Linked DNA regions of Homo sapiens: region 1 is linked to region 2. The links are contacts of gene promoters, found by promoter capture Hi-C in blood cells and fetal thymus (Javierre and others, 2016). All regions are on one chromosome and are shown on one strand. Each heading gives the region's core, a stretch centred on a gene start or on the middle of the fragment in contact. The rest is flanking DNA. Distances are from core to core; before and after follow the strand shown. Region 1 overlaps LOC105378283 (a long non-coding RNA gene). Region 2 holds the start of ZNF22 (zinc finger protein 22).

Region 1 (6,324 bases), core at 2,265-4,764, 210 kb before region 2:
AATGTCATATAGTTGGAATCATACAGTATAAGGTCTTTACAGATTGGCTACTTTTGCTTAGCAATATGCATTTAAGATTCCTCCATGCCTTTTGTGGTTTGATAACTCATTTCTTTTTAGCAGTGAATAATACTCAGTTGTCTGGATGTACCACACTGTGCTTATCCATTCACCTGTTGGATGACATTTTGGCAGCTTTTAAATTTGGACAATTATGAATAAAGCTGTTGTAAACATTCTTGTGCAGATTTTGGGTGAATACCTAGGAATGTGATTACTGGATCATGTGATAAGACTATGTTTAGCTTTGGAAGAAACTATCAAACTGTCATCTCAAGTGGCTGTACTATTTTGCATTCTACCAATAAAGAATGAGATTTTCTGTTGTTCCACATCCTCACCAGCATTTGGTGGTGGTGGTGTTTTGGATTTTAGCCATTCTAGTGGGTATGCAGTAGTATCTCATTGTTTCCATTTGCAATTCCCTAGTGACTATATGATGCTGAGCATCTTTTCATATGCTTATTTGCCATATGTATATCTTCTCTGGTGAGATGTTCATTCAGATCTTTTATGTACTTTTTAATTGGGTTCTTTGTTGTTGAGTTTTAAGTCGTCTTTACATATTTTGGATACCAGTTCTTTATCAGGTATGTGTGTTGCGAATATTTTCTCCTTGTTTGAGTTGGTCTTTCTTTTCCCTAATGATATCTTTCACAGAGCAGAAATTTTTAAATATAATGAAGTCCCACTTATCAAGTTTTTCCTTCATAAGTTGTGCCTTTGGTATTGTATCTAAGAAGTCATTGCCAAATCTCAGGTCAACTAGATTTTCTCCTTTGTTATATCTAGAAATTTTGATAGCTTTGTGTTTTATATAATAGGTCTGTGATTTGAGTTTATTTTTGTGAAAGGTGTTAGGTCTTTGTCTAGATTGATTTTTGTGTGTGTTGATGTCCATCTGTTTCAGCATCATTTGTTGAAAAGACTCCTTTTCCCACTGAATTGCCTTTGCACTTCTGCTAAAGATTAGTTGATTGTATTAGTGTGGTCTATTTCTGGGCTATTTTATTCCAGTGATCTATTTGTCTATTGTTTCACCAATACCATACTCTAAGTTTTGAAGTTGGGCAGTGTCAATGCTGCAATTGTATTTTCTTCAATATTGCATTGGCTGTTCTGCCTTTCCATGTAAATTTTAGGATCAGTTTGTTGATATCCATAAACTTTCCGGTATTTTGACTGGAATTGATATGTAGATCAACTTGGGAAGAACTGACATTGTAACAATGTTGGGTCTTCCTATTCATGAACATGGGCTATCTCACAGTTTATTTAGGTCTTTGATTTGTTTCATACTAGTTTTGAAACTTTTCTCATATAGATCTTGTACATATTTTGTTAGCTATATATCTTACTATTTCATTTGTTTGGTGTTAATGTAAATGATATGTTTTTAATTTAAAATTCTAATTATATAGAAAAGCAGTTGTCTTTGTATATAACCTTGTATCCTGCAACCTTGCTGTAGTTGTTTATTAGTTTCAGTTCTTTTTTGTTGATGATTTGGGATTTTCTATGTAGACATCATATTATCTGTGGATAAAGACAGTTTTAATTCATCCTTCCCTATCTGCATACATTTTTCTGCTTTTTCTTACTGCATTAACTAAGACTTCCAATATGATTTTGGCTAAAAGTTGTGACAGGTGACATCCTTGCTTTGTTCCCAACCATAGTAGGAAAGAAACTAGTTCCTTACCATTAAGTATCGTATTAATTGTAGGTTTTTTGTAGATTTTTTTATTAAGTTGAGAAAATTTTCCTCTATTCCTAGTTGGCTAAGAGTTTTTATGGGTGTTGGATTTTGTCCAGTGCTTTTTCTGCATCTATAGATATAATCATATGGATTTTCTTCTTTCGCCTGTTTGAAGTGATGGATTGCTTTTATTTTTGAATTTGAACCACCTTTGCATACCTGGAGTAAGTTCCATTTGGTCATTGTGTATACTCTTAATACATTTTTGAATTAATTTCAAATGCTTTGTTGAGAATTTTTGTATCTATGTTCATGAGAGATGTTCCTCTGTAGTTTCTCCTTTTTGTAATGTCTTTGACTTAATGCTGACCTCATAGAATGAGTTAGGAATTGTTCTCTCTGCTTCTGTTTTCTGAAAGGCATTGTAGAGAATTGGTATAGTTTCTTCCTTAAATGTTTGATAGAATTCATGAGTAAACCTATCTGGGCATGGTGCTTTCTATTTTAGAAGGTTATTAATATTTCTGATTCAATTTATTTAATAGACGTAGGCCTACTAAAAGGATCTATTTCTCCCTGTGTGAGTTTTGGTAGATTATGCCTTTCCAGCAGTTGGTCCATTTTATCTAAGTTATAACATTTTTGGACATAGAGTTGTTCATAATGTTACTTTATTATCCCTTTAACATCCATGAAATCAGTAGTAATGGCCCTTCTTTCATTTCTGTTGTTAGTAATTAGTTCTTTTTTTTTTTTTTTTGGCTAGCCTCCCTAGAGGATTACCAGTTTTACTGATCTTTTCCAAAAACCAGATTTTGGACTCAGACATTTTCTCTATTGATTTCCCCTTTTAAGTATCATTGATTTCTGCCCTAATATTTATTAATTTTTTTTCTGTTTACTTGTAGTTCAATTCATTCTCATTTTTCTTGTTTCCTAGGGTAGAAGTTTGGATTATTGATTTTATAAGGTTGGTGCAGAAGTAATTGCCGTTTAGCCATTACTTTTGCACCAACCTAATAGAACTTTCTTGTTTTGTAATACATGCATTTAATGCTATAAATTTCCTTTACCATTGATTTTGCTGCACTTCACAATTTTTTCTTTTTTTTTTTGAGTCGGAGTCTCCCTCTGTCGCCCAGGCTGGAGTCCAGTGGCGTGATCTCCGCTTACTGCAAGCTCCGCCTGCCGGGTTCATGCCATTCTCCTGCCTCAGCCTCCCAGGTAGCTGGGACTACAGGCGCCCGCCACCATGCCCAGCTAATTTTTTGTATTTTTAGTAGAGATGGGGTTTCACTGTGTTAGCCAGGATGGTCTTGATCTCCTGACCTCGCGATCTGCCTGCCTTGGCCTCCTAAAGTGCTAGGATTACAGGCTTGAGCCACTGCGCCCAGCCCCTGCACTTCACAAATTCTGATAAGTAGTATATTCATTTAATTAAAATATTTTAAAAAATTTTTTGAGATTTCTTTGACGTGTTATTTAGAAATACATTGTTAATGACCAGATGTTTTGGGATTTTTCAGCTATCTTTCTGTTTGATTTCTAGTTTAATTCCAGTGTGGACTGAGAGCTTATATAATTTCTATTCTCTTTAAGGGGTGTTTTATGGCCCAGAATGTGGTCTATGTTGATGAATGTTCTGTGCAAGCTTCAGAAGAATGTGTTTTTTTGTGTTGGATGGAGTAGTCTATAGATGCCAGTTATATCCAGTTGATTGATGGTGGTGTTGTGTTTTTAACTCTGCCCTTACTGATTTTCTGCCTGCTGGATCTGTCAGTTACTAACAGAATGGAGTGTTGAAGTCTCCAAGTATAATAGTGGGTTTGTTTCTTTCTCTTTGCATTTCTGTAAGCTTTTGTCTTGCTATTTTGACACTGTTGTTGGATGCATACACATTAAGGATTACTGTGTCTTCTTGGAAAGTTTACCTTTTAATCATTATATAATATCCCCTTTTATTTCTGATAATCTTCCTTGCTTTGAAGTCAGCTTTGTCTGAAATTAACATGACTACTCCAGCTTTCTTTTGCTTAGTGTTCAGTGTCATGTATCTTTCTCCATCCCTTTACTTTTAATTTGTTTCTATATTTTATATTTAAAGTGGATATCTCATAGATAACATATCGTTAGATCCTGTTTTTTTTCTTTTAGAAAAATCCACCCTGATAGTCTTTTATAGTCTTTTAATTGATATGTTTGGTTATCAACATATAATGTGATCATTGATATTGCTTAGATTAATACCTACATAATAAGTGTTTTCTATTCTTGCCCTTGTTCTTTTTTTTTTTGTCTTCTGCTCTTTTTCTGCTTTCCATGGCTTTAATTGAGCATGTTGTATGATTTCATTTTCTCTACTCAAAACATATTCCATTTTCTCTCCTCTCAGCAAACTTACATGTAAAAATGTATGTATGTATTTATTTATTTATATATATTTTTGAGACAGCGTCTCGCTCTGTCACCCAGGCTGGAGTGCAGTGGTGTGATCTCAGCTCACTGCAAGCTCCGCCTCCCAGGTTCACACCATTCTCCTGCCTCAACCTCCTGAGTAGCTGGGACTACAGGCGCCCACCATGATGCGTGGCTAATTTTTTTTGTATTTTTAGTAGAGACGGGGTTTCACCGTATTAGCCAGGATGGTCTCGATCTCCTGACCTCGTGATCCACCCATCTTGGCCTCCCAAAGTGCTGGGATTACAGGCGTGAACCACTGCGCCCAGCCAAAAATTTATTTTTTTTAGAAGGAGGATAAGGCAAGGAATAAAAACTTCTTAATGATAGCCCTAGAGTTTGCAATATACATTTACAATGAATGTCAACTCACTTTTAAATAACACTGTGCCACTTCAGAGCCAGTGCAGATGCCTTAAAATCAAACATTTCCAGTTCCTTCCTGTTGTCCTTTATAGAACTGCTAACATTCATTTCACTTATCCGTAAACTATAATCAACCAACACATTGCTGCTGTTACTATTTTGAACAATCTGTTATCTGTTAGATTAAGAATAAGAACAATACACCATTTTATATTACTTTTATTCATTCTTTAACACTCTTCCTTTATGTAGACACTATTTTCTGCTGTATTGTTTTTATTCTCTGTGACGAGCTTGTTTTTAGCACATTTTATGTCTCTTCAATTTTTATTTTGGTGAGAAAGTATTTCTTTATATTTGATAGATAATTTCATTGAATACAGGATTCTAGATTGGAGGGTGTTTTTCCCTTCAGCACTTTATATTTTACCCCATTGCTGGCATGGTTTCTTAAGAAAAATCCAATGTGATTTTTATTCTGGTTTCTTTATAGGTAAGGTTTTTTTTTTGTTGTTGTTTTGTTTTTTTCCTCTGACTTCCTTCAATATTTTGTCTTTGTCTTTGACTTTCTACAGTTTGAATGTCATATGTGTAGGTGTAGATTTTTTGGTAATTATCCTTTTTTGTGTTCCCTGAGCTTCTTGGATATGTGGTTTGGTCTCTGTCATTAATTTTGGAATATTCTGAGTTATTTAAATATTTTTTTCTGTTCTTTCTCTCGTTATATTCCCTTTATGTGCATGTTATGCCTTTTGTAATTTTCCCATTTTCTTAGATATTCTGTTTCACTTTTCCACTCTTCTTTTTTCTCTTTGCTTTTCAGTTCAGGAAGTTTCTGTTGACATGTCTTCACGATCACTGATTCTTTCCTTGGCTGTATCCATTCTACTAATGAGCCAGTCAGAGGCTCTCTTTATTTCTGTTACAGTGTTTGTAATCTCTAGTATTTCAGTTCTCTCTTAGGGCTTTTGTCTTTGCTGACATTACCCATCTTTTCTTGCATTTTGTCTACCTTTTCTATTAGAGCTCTTAGCATATCAATCATAGTAATTTTAAAGTACCAGTCAGATAACTTTAAAATATCTGCTATATCCAAGTGTACTTCTTTTGCTTTATTTCTCTCTTCAGCCTGTATTTTTTTCTTTTTAGAGTAGCTTGTAATTTTGTTGTAAGCCAGACATGATGCATTGGGTAAAATGAACTGAGGTAAACAGGCTTTTAGTGTGAGTTCTCACATTTTTGTAGCTGTGGGTGTCAGAGGGTAACATTTTCTCTTTTGTCTTCCTTGTTTTTTCCTCCCCTTTTGTCTTAGAGTTTCCCTGTTGAATCCTTAAATACTGTGTGAGCATTGAAGTTCTGCCATAATTCCATGTTATTTTATAGGAGCCCTTCTGACAAGACAGGATCGGGAAAAGGGAAATGCTCTGTAATCCTGTGCTTAGATCTCTGTCCTTTAGTGAGCCTTGGCTGTGACCTTCACAGCTGTTTCTCAGCTTCCCTGCATGTCCCCCAAGTGAGACAGGAAGGTGTGAGCGGGCTGGAGTTGGGTATTTCCATTACTTCCTATTGGTCAGGCTCTGGTAAAACCCAGGTAGCCTAGGCTCTGCTAAAATCATTTCTCCTTTGTTAAGGAGAGCAGAATACTTTGGCCTTATTTCACAGTGGTTGCTCTTCTCCCCTTCCATGAAGCACAAAGGGATTTTTTTTTCCTATCTAATTTTTTCACCCTGAGAAACCGATAG
Region 2 (5,742 bases), core at 1,604-4,103:
TCTCCAGTATGAATTCTCTGGTGCTGAATGAGATTTGAGCTCTGTTTGAAGCTTTCTCCACACTCATCACATTTGTAGGGCTTTTCCCCCGTATGGATCCGTCGATGCTGAATGAGATTAGAACTCTGAAAGAAACTTTTCCCACAATCAGCACATTTATGGGATTTCTTTCCAGTATGGATCTTCTGGTGTTGAAAAAGAGTTGAACTCTGACTGAAACTCTTTTCACATTCAGTACATTTATAGGGTTTGTCATCCAAGCTTCTTCTGAGTCTACTGAAGCTTGAGTCAAATCGAATAGTCATGCCCCACTTCTGCCGCTGCCGGCCTGTTTTGCGCTTGTTCTCATAGGCCTTTCCTTGGCTTGAGCTCCGAGAAATACCCGCTTTAGGCTTTGCTAACCTCATGGTGAATAACCAAATGTATTTGTAAGAGAGTTTACAGGCTTCTTCTGAACTAGTGTTTCATTTCCTAGAGGTGTACAGCTCAGAATTTTCTGTGTGTAGAAGGAAAAAAAATTTAGAGATGATCAGAAAAAAAATTACAGATATCTGTTAACTATTCAATTTTAATATCTCTTCAACCCACCAAAATTGCATTCATGTTTAAATTTAAAAAGTATAAATGCAAACAAAGATAATATGGGGGGAAATTTGGGGGAAATACTTGCAAAGTAATTCTAACAATTCCAGAGTTTAAGCTTAACAAATATCACCAAATTTTGACTGAGTTTACCACTGGAGTTTCTGTCTATTGGGACAAGACAAATTAAAAGTGATCAGGTGAAATATAAATCTTCCAAGCATTACCAAATGAGTACATAATTTTGAAGAACTAAAAAGTGGAGATAAGGTAAATCTTAATGGGAATGGAGTAACTCCAAAAGACAATCAAAATTTGTGTAACAGAACATTACTATGCTTTAATATTTAGTTCCATGTTAAACTTCTACTAACTAGTAACTGCCTAAGGTATCCAAATGAATAAGAAATGACAAATTACACTACTTTATGATATATTCCTGTTTATCTGTATTTAGCATTCGATTTCCATAGCTCTAGATGACAGTTTAGCTCTAATTCTGTAGCATAAAGTGTTTTGAAAATTGAAACTTCTCTACAGGGAGTGGTAGGTTTACTTAGTCTATGAAGACACGCTTTATTATTGGTTTTTATAGATCCTAATGATCCAAGAAAGCAATTTGTTGAAAACCCAAAACGAAAGTACTGTTTTCGGAGACAGAAAAACTGCAAAAGAACTTTTACCAGAAAGTGGAATGAAACTGAGTAGAAAACGCATGGTAGGTAGGACACAAGAAAAGGAGAGGGGGGAGAAAATGAGTTTACATGTAAAACTAGGATGGAATTTTTAGAATACCCAAATGCTGCAAAATTCAAAATTTCAAATGATTTTATTTATTTATAAGGCTGACTTGTGGCTATTTAAAATAACGGCCAAAACAAACCAACAAAAACCCCTACAAACCCCACATAGGTGGCAATGTCGGAAAATCTAGAACTTCAAAAGCAATAAAATTATTGGAACTATTTTTCATTATCTTGTGTCAGAATGTGGAATTTAAAATAGAAACAATTATTCTGGGTTTCTTTGCATACAAACATATAAAGCAAATAAATGAAAACAAAAACATAATTTTTCTTGCCTTCCTTTCATCTTATTGTATAATTGAGACTTTAGGTCCAGGACTTTATCTGGATATTTAATAATTACATCAGCTGTAATTATGGTCAGCGTAAGAGTAAGCCGCATATAACACAAGATTACAGTTAGGACTACCCACTCCTTAACTTAAGCAAATATTTACAGAACATCTACCACACAGGAGACATTGTGTTAGGTACATGGTGTTGGTGTTGCTTTTTTTTTTTTTTAATAACTATAATGGTCATTATACATAAAAGCACACGCATTTAATACAATGGAAGTCAGATCTAGTCAGAAACTCAGACTGTCAAATCCACCTACGGATGAGGCAATCATACTAGTATGTGCCAGACACTGTGTAACTTGATTCTGTGCTAGCTCTTTAATTCTCCTGGCACCTTTATGCAGTTATTTCCGTTTTAAGTTAAGGAAACGAGGGCACAATGCTAGAAGGCACTGGCCGGGTTCCCAGACCCTAGCAGTTTGACTCCAGAGCCTGTACTCTTAGTGGCAGCCACATCTTCCATTGCTCAGTCCAGCGCGGCGACCCGTGCTTTGCATAGCTCCCCAGCAGGGGCAAGCACGAAGTTAAACCTGAGTGACAGAAGCTGCTGTTCTTGCACACCCAGCTAACTGGAATGTGCCTCAGTTTCCTCGTAAAATGGGGAGGGTAATGATAAAGTGGCAACACCATCAAGATGTTAGAAGTTGCAATGAGTCTGAATCTGAAAACCGCTCAGAGCAGCCCTGTGCTGCCTAAGCATTTGTTCCACGTATCTAGTCCTCGAACGCTCCGAGCGACGGAAGGGGCCGGGGCTGCTGCTCACCCGCCCAGTTCCACCCGCCGCGGGCCGCGCCTCGCCCGGGCCCCCAGTCCAAGCCTCCCGTTCCCAGCACTCCGCCGGCCGCTCCTCATTGACCCGGCCCGCCCGCCGCGCAGGCCGCGGCCCCACCCTGGGCCCGCGTGGCCCTCCCGCCCCCGCCCGGCGGCCAGGCCCTGCCCGGAGGCGGGAGACGCAAGCCACGCCATCGCCCGGGCCCGCGCCGCCCTCGTTGCGGCCAGCGCGCTCCCGAGCGGACCCGAGTATCCGACGCAGGCCCCGAGCGCCCCAAGTGCCCCAATCCCACTCACCGCGCGGGACCAGCCACCACTCTGGCTCGCTGGGCGCCTCCCGCGCCGCCGGAAGTGAGGGCCTCGCCGCGCTCTGGCGCCGCCGCGGTCGCTCTAGGAAAGTGGCGGAGCGACCCTCTATGGTCCCGGGCCCACCCGAAAGCGTTGTTCGTTTCTTCCTGTGGTTTTGTTTTCTCCTCCCCCCAACTCGGAAGGCGTCCTGTGACCCCCGGGACCTCAAGAGCTGTAACCGCCCCTGTGTGTGGTCGAGGCTTTTGAAACCAAACTCTAGCCTCTCCAACCTAGAAACTGCATACTTTCCACAAATTTTGAGATTTTTGAGACCCTGGTACTTTTCACGAAGTCACCTTAATTATCACCAAAAAGCTCCTGCAAGATGGGAGTGGTTATACTCCATTTACAGGAAAGGAACCAAGGCTCAGAGAAGAAATGTGCTCCGTTCACCGTGTGTAAGCGGACGACCCAGAATTGGAATGGTTCTTTGTGGCTCCAAAGTCTGATTTCAACACACCCCTTTTGTTGCTCATTAGTAATGATCTCTCTTTGTTCTTATTCCTTCCAGGCTCCTCCTCAGCCATCCTGGCCGTGCTCAGTCATCTGACCAGCTGACCTCCGTGTTCCCCCACTCCCTGGGGAGCTCCTCCGCCTTTTGGCTTCCAATGCTATTGCTGCATGCTGAAGACTCCCGCATTGGTAACTCCAGTCTGACTGTGGGACATAAATGTTATTGAACTTTAGACTTGTATATCGAACTGATTACTCAAGAGCTGCATTTGCATGTGTAATGGACATCCCAAACCTAACATACCCCCCAAATGAATTCCTGATATCTACCTAACCTGTTCTTGCAACAGTCTTCTTCCCAGGGATGGGTGAAGATCCCATCATCTTTCCAGTTGCTCAAGCCAAAAACCTTGATGTCACTGTTGTCTCTTCTTTTTTTCATCCAAAATTCACCTGTGATTTATCCACAAATTCTGTCGGCTTCATCGTTAAAATATATTCATTATCAAGCCACTTTCAACACTTCCACTGCTATAACCACCAAGCCACCTTCATCCACCTTCTGGATTATTATATTGGCTTCCAGACGGGTTGCCCTACAGTCTATTCACGGCCCCAGAGTAATCCTCTTAAACCTAAGTTAGATCATGTCATTCATTTGTTCAAAACCTTCAAAGGCTTCCCAACTTATTAGAGCAAAGCCAAGGACCTCGCAGTGGCACCCGATGCCTCTCATGATCTGTCTCTTTAGTTCTTTATTGTGTCTGCAGTGCTGAAAACAGTGCTCAGCAGGGAACAGACACTCAGTAAATAGCTGTTGAATGAATGAATTTATAAGATGCCTTATTGTTTACAAAGTACTTTTACATCTTATCTTCTGGTTATTCATCTTCACCATAGTCTCATGAAGCACAGATTATCATATCTGTCTTGCAAATCAGTAAACTGAAGCAAGAGAGGCTGACCTGCCTGAAGTAATACAGTGGTTTGTTGGTGGAGGCTAAACTAAGTCATAGGTTCATTCTCTTAAGTTGGGGCTTTCTGCTCTGTAGGGAGCTGTCTCTGCATATGGCAAAGCACAAAGCTGAATGAGGTCTGGACAAAGAAGCTCCACTCGCAATCTAGAGAGTATCTGGACTATTGCAGTGATTAAATGAGGTAATGTAAGGCACTTAGCACAATGTATAACACAGAAGAAATGAGAGTCGTTGTTACTTTTATTATTAAATTGTTATAAGTTGGTTGATGCTGGTGGTTGGAGAGTTTGGGGTAAAGGGCAATGGCCAGAGATCTAGAAATGGTTTAGGAAAAGCGTCAGGAGCAAACATGACCCGTTGGGACTGTCTGCTCTATGTACACTAAAATAAAAAGATAATTTTTAAAAAGCCATTTTGTTAGTAAGGTAGTTACTAATTAAAACTAACTCCTTTAATGTCTACATAAAGATGGATTATCCCTTTTTCCTATACCTGAAAACAACTGGGCCAGCCATAGAAGGGCCAGAGGTATGTCAACTAAAGCATTGGGTAAACGAGGATGGATTTTTTAAAAAGAGAGAGACGAAAGTCAGGAAATAAAGGGGTGTGTGTCCCTAAGTGTGGACAGAGTCCTGGGCAGTAAGGATGGAGAGGAGGGAGAGCCAGAAAAATATATGAAGGAGAGGAGGGTAAAGGAGAATGGGAAAAAGACAGGGAGAGAAAGCAGGTAGGGTTTTATGCCTTCAGCCTAGCTGTTAGTATAATAATAGTTAACACTTATTGAGTGCTTATTGTGTGCCAGGCACTGTTTGCAGCATTTGAGGATCTCACGTGAGATTCCTGAGGCATGATTATTCCTGAGGGTTTGCTCCACCTTCTCTGGTTTTGGTCCCTGCACTTTGTGGTGTGACTCCGGTGCCTCCTGGTGAACCACATGCCTGTCCCACTGATGTTGACTTGACCACTGATTTGAATTGGCTGACCGCATGTGACTGGATGCAAGGGGTACATCACATCCCAGAAGAAACTTCAAGTCATTGTGTTTCTGCCAGGACTCTGCTCTTTCCCTCTGCCTTGAGAATAGCATGTCCCAAGTAGGGGCTGCCCCTTTAGTCTAGGAACCAGGATGATAAGACACATGGAGCAGAGCCACAGAAGCTCACATGTAACCACAACGGTCCCACGTAATGTTAGAGAAACAAATGCTCTTGTAACACTGAGATTCTTGGTGGTATTATTGCATTAAAGTTGACTAATGTACCTCCCACCAACCGTAAGAGATAGGAATTGTTATTATCCTGTGATATTGTGAAATACATAGTTGATCTTCTCCCCGTTTCCTGACATACAACTTCTAAAATCCTTAGAATCTCCAAAGTGATGTCTTTTTATATGCTGATGAGTTGACTGATGCCTGGCAGCCCCTGGGTAGCTTCAGGATGGGGCTGGTCACTGGAAAGACCA

The links. Contacts are between HindIII fragments. The CHiCAGO score rates a contact against its expected background, and 5 or more counts as called.
Region 1: a fragment that was not itself captured here is called in contact with the fragment with the promoter of ZNF22 in region 2 in 3 of 17 cell types (erythroblasts, M1 macrophages and megakaryocytes); the score reaches 8.4 in erythroblasts.

Annotation. Positions count from the first base shown.
Region 1 is chr10:45,209,004-45,215,327 of GRCh38, reverse strand. The region is part of intron 3 of LOC105378283 (a long non-coding RNA gene); the gene reads left to right. Among named protein-coding and RNA genes, the nearest start is that of MIR3156-1, 48 kb to the right of the region's middle. The HindIII fragment of the contact is 204 bases long and covers 3,413-3,616 here.
Region 2 is chr10:44,998,034-45,003,775 of GRCh38, reverse strand. It overlaps ZNF22 (zinc finger protein 22), which reads right to left and starts at 2,853. Exons shown (of 2, transcript NM_006963.5): 1 at 2,798-2,853; 2 at 1-496. The coding sequence starts at 407. It overlaps LOC124902530, which reads right to left. Exons shown (of 3, transcript XM_047426129.1): 3 at 1,393-2,996. The coding sequence ends at 2,367. It overlaps ZNF22-AS1 (ZNF22 antisense RNA 1), which reads left to right and starts at 2,973. Exons shown (of 4, transcript NR_126421.2): 1 at 2,973-3,246; 2 at 3,360-3,490; 3 at 4,354-4,459. RefSeq lists an enhancer at 2,237-2,737 and a silencer at 2,464-2,813. The HindIII fragment of the contact is 6,687 bases long and covers 703-5,742 here.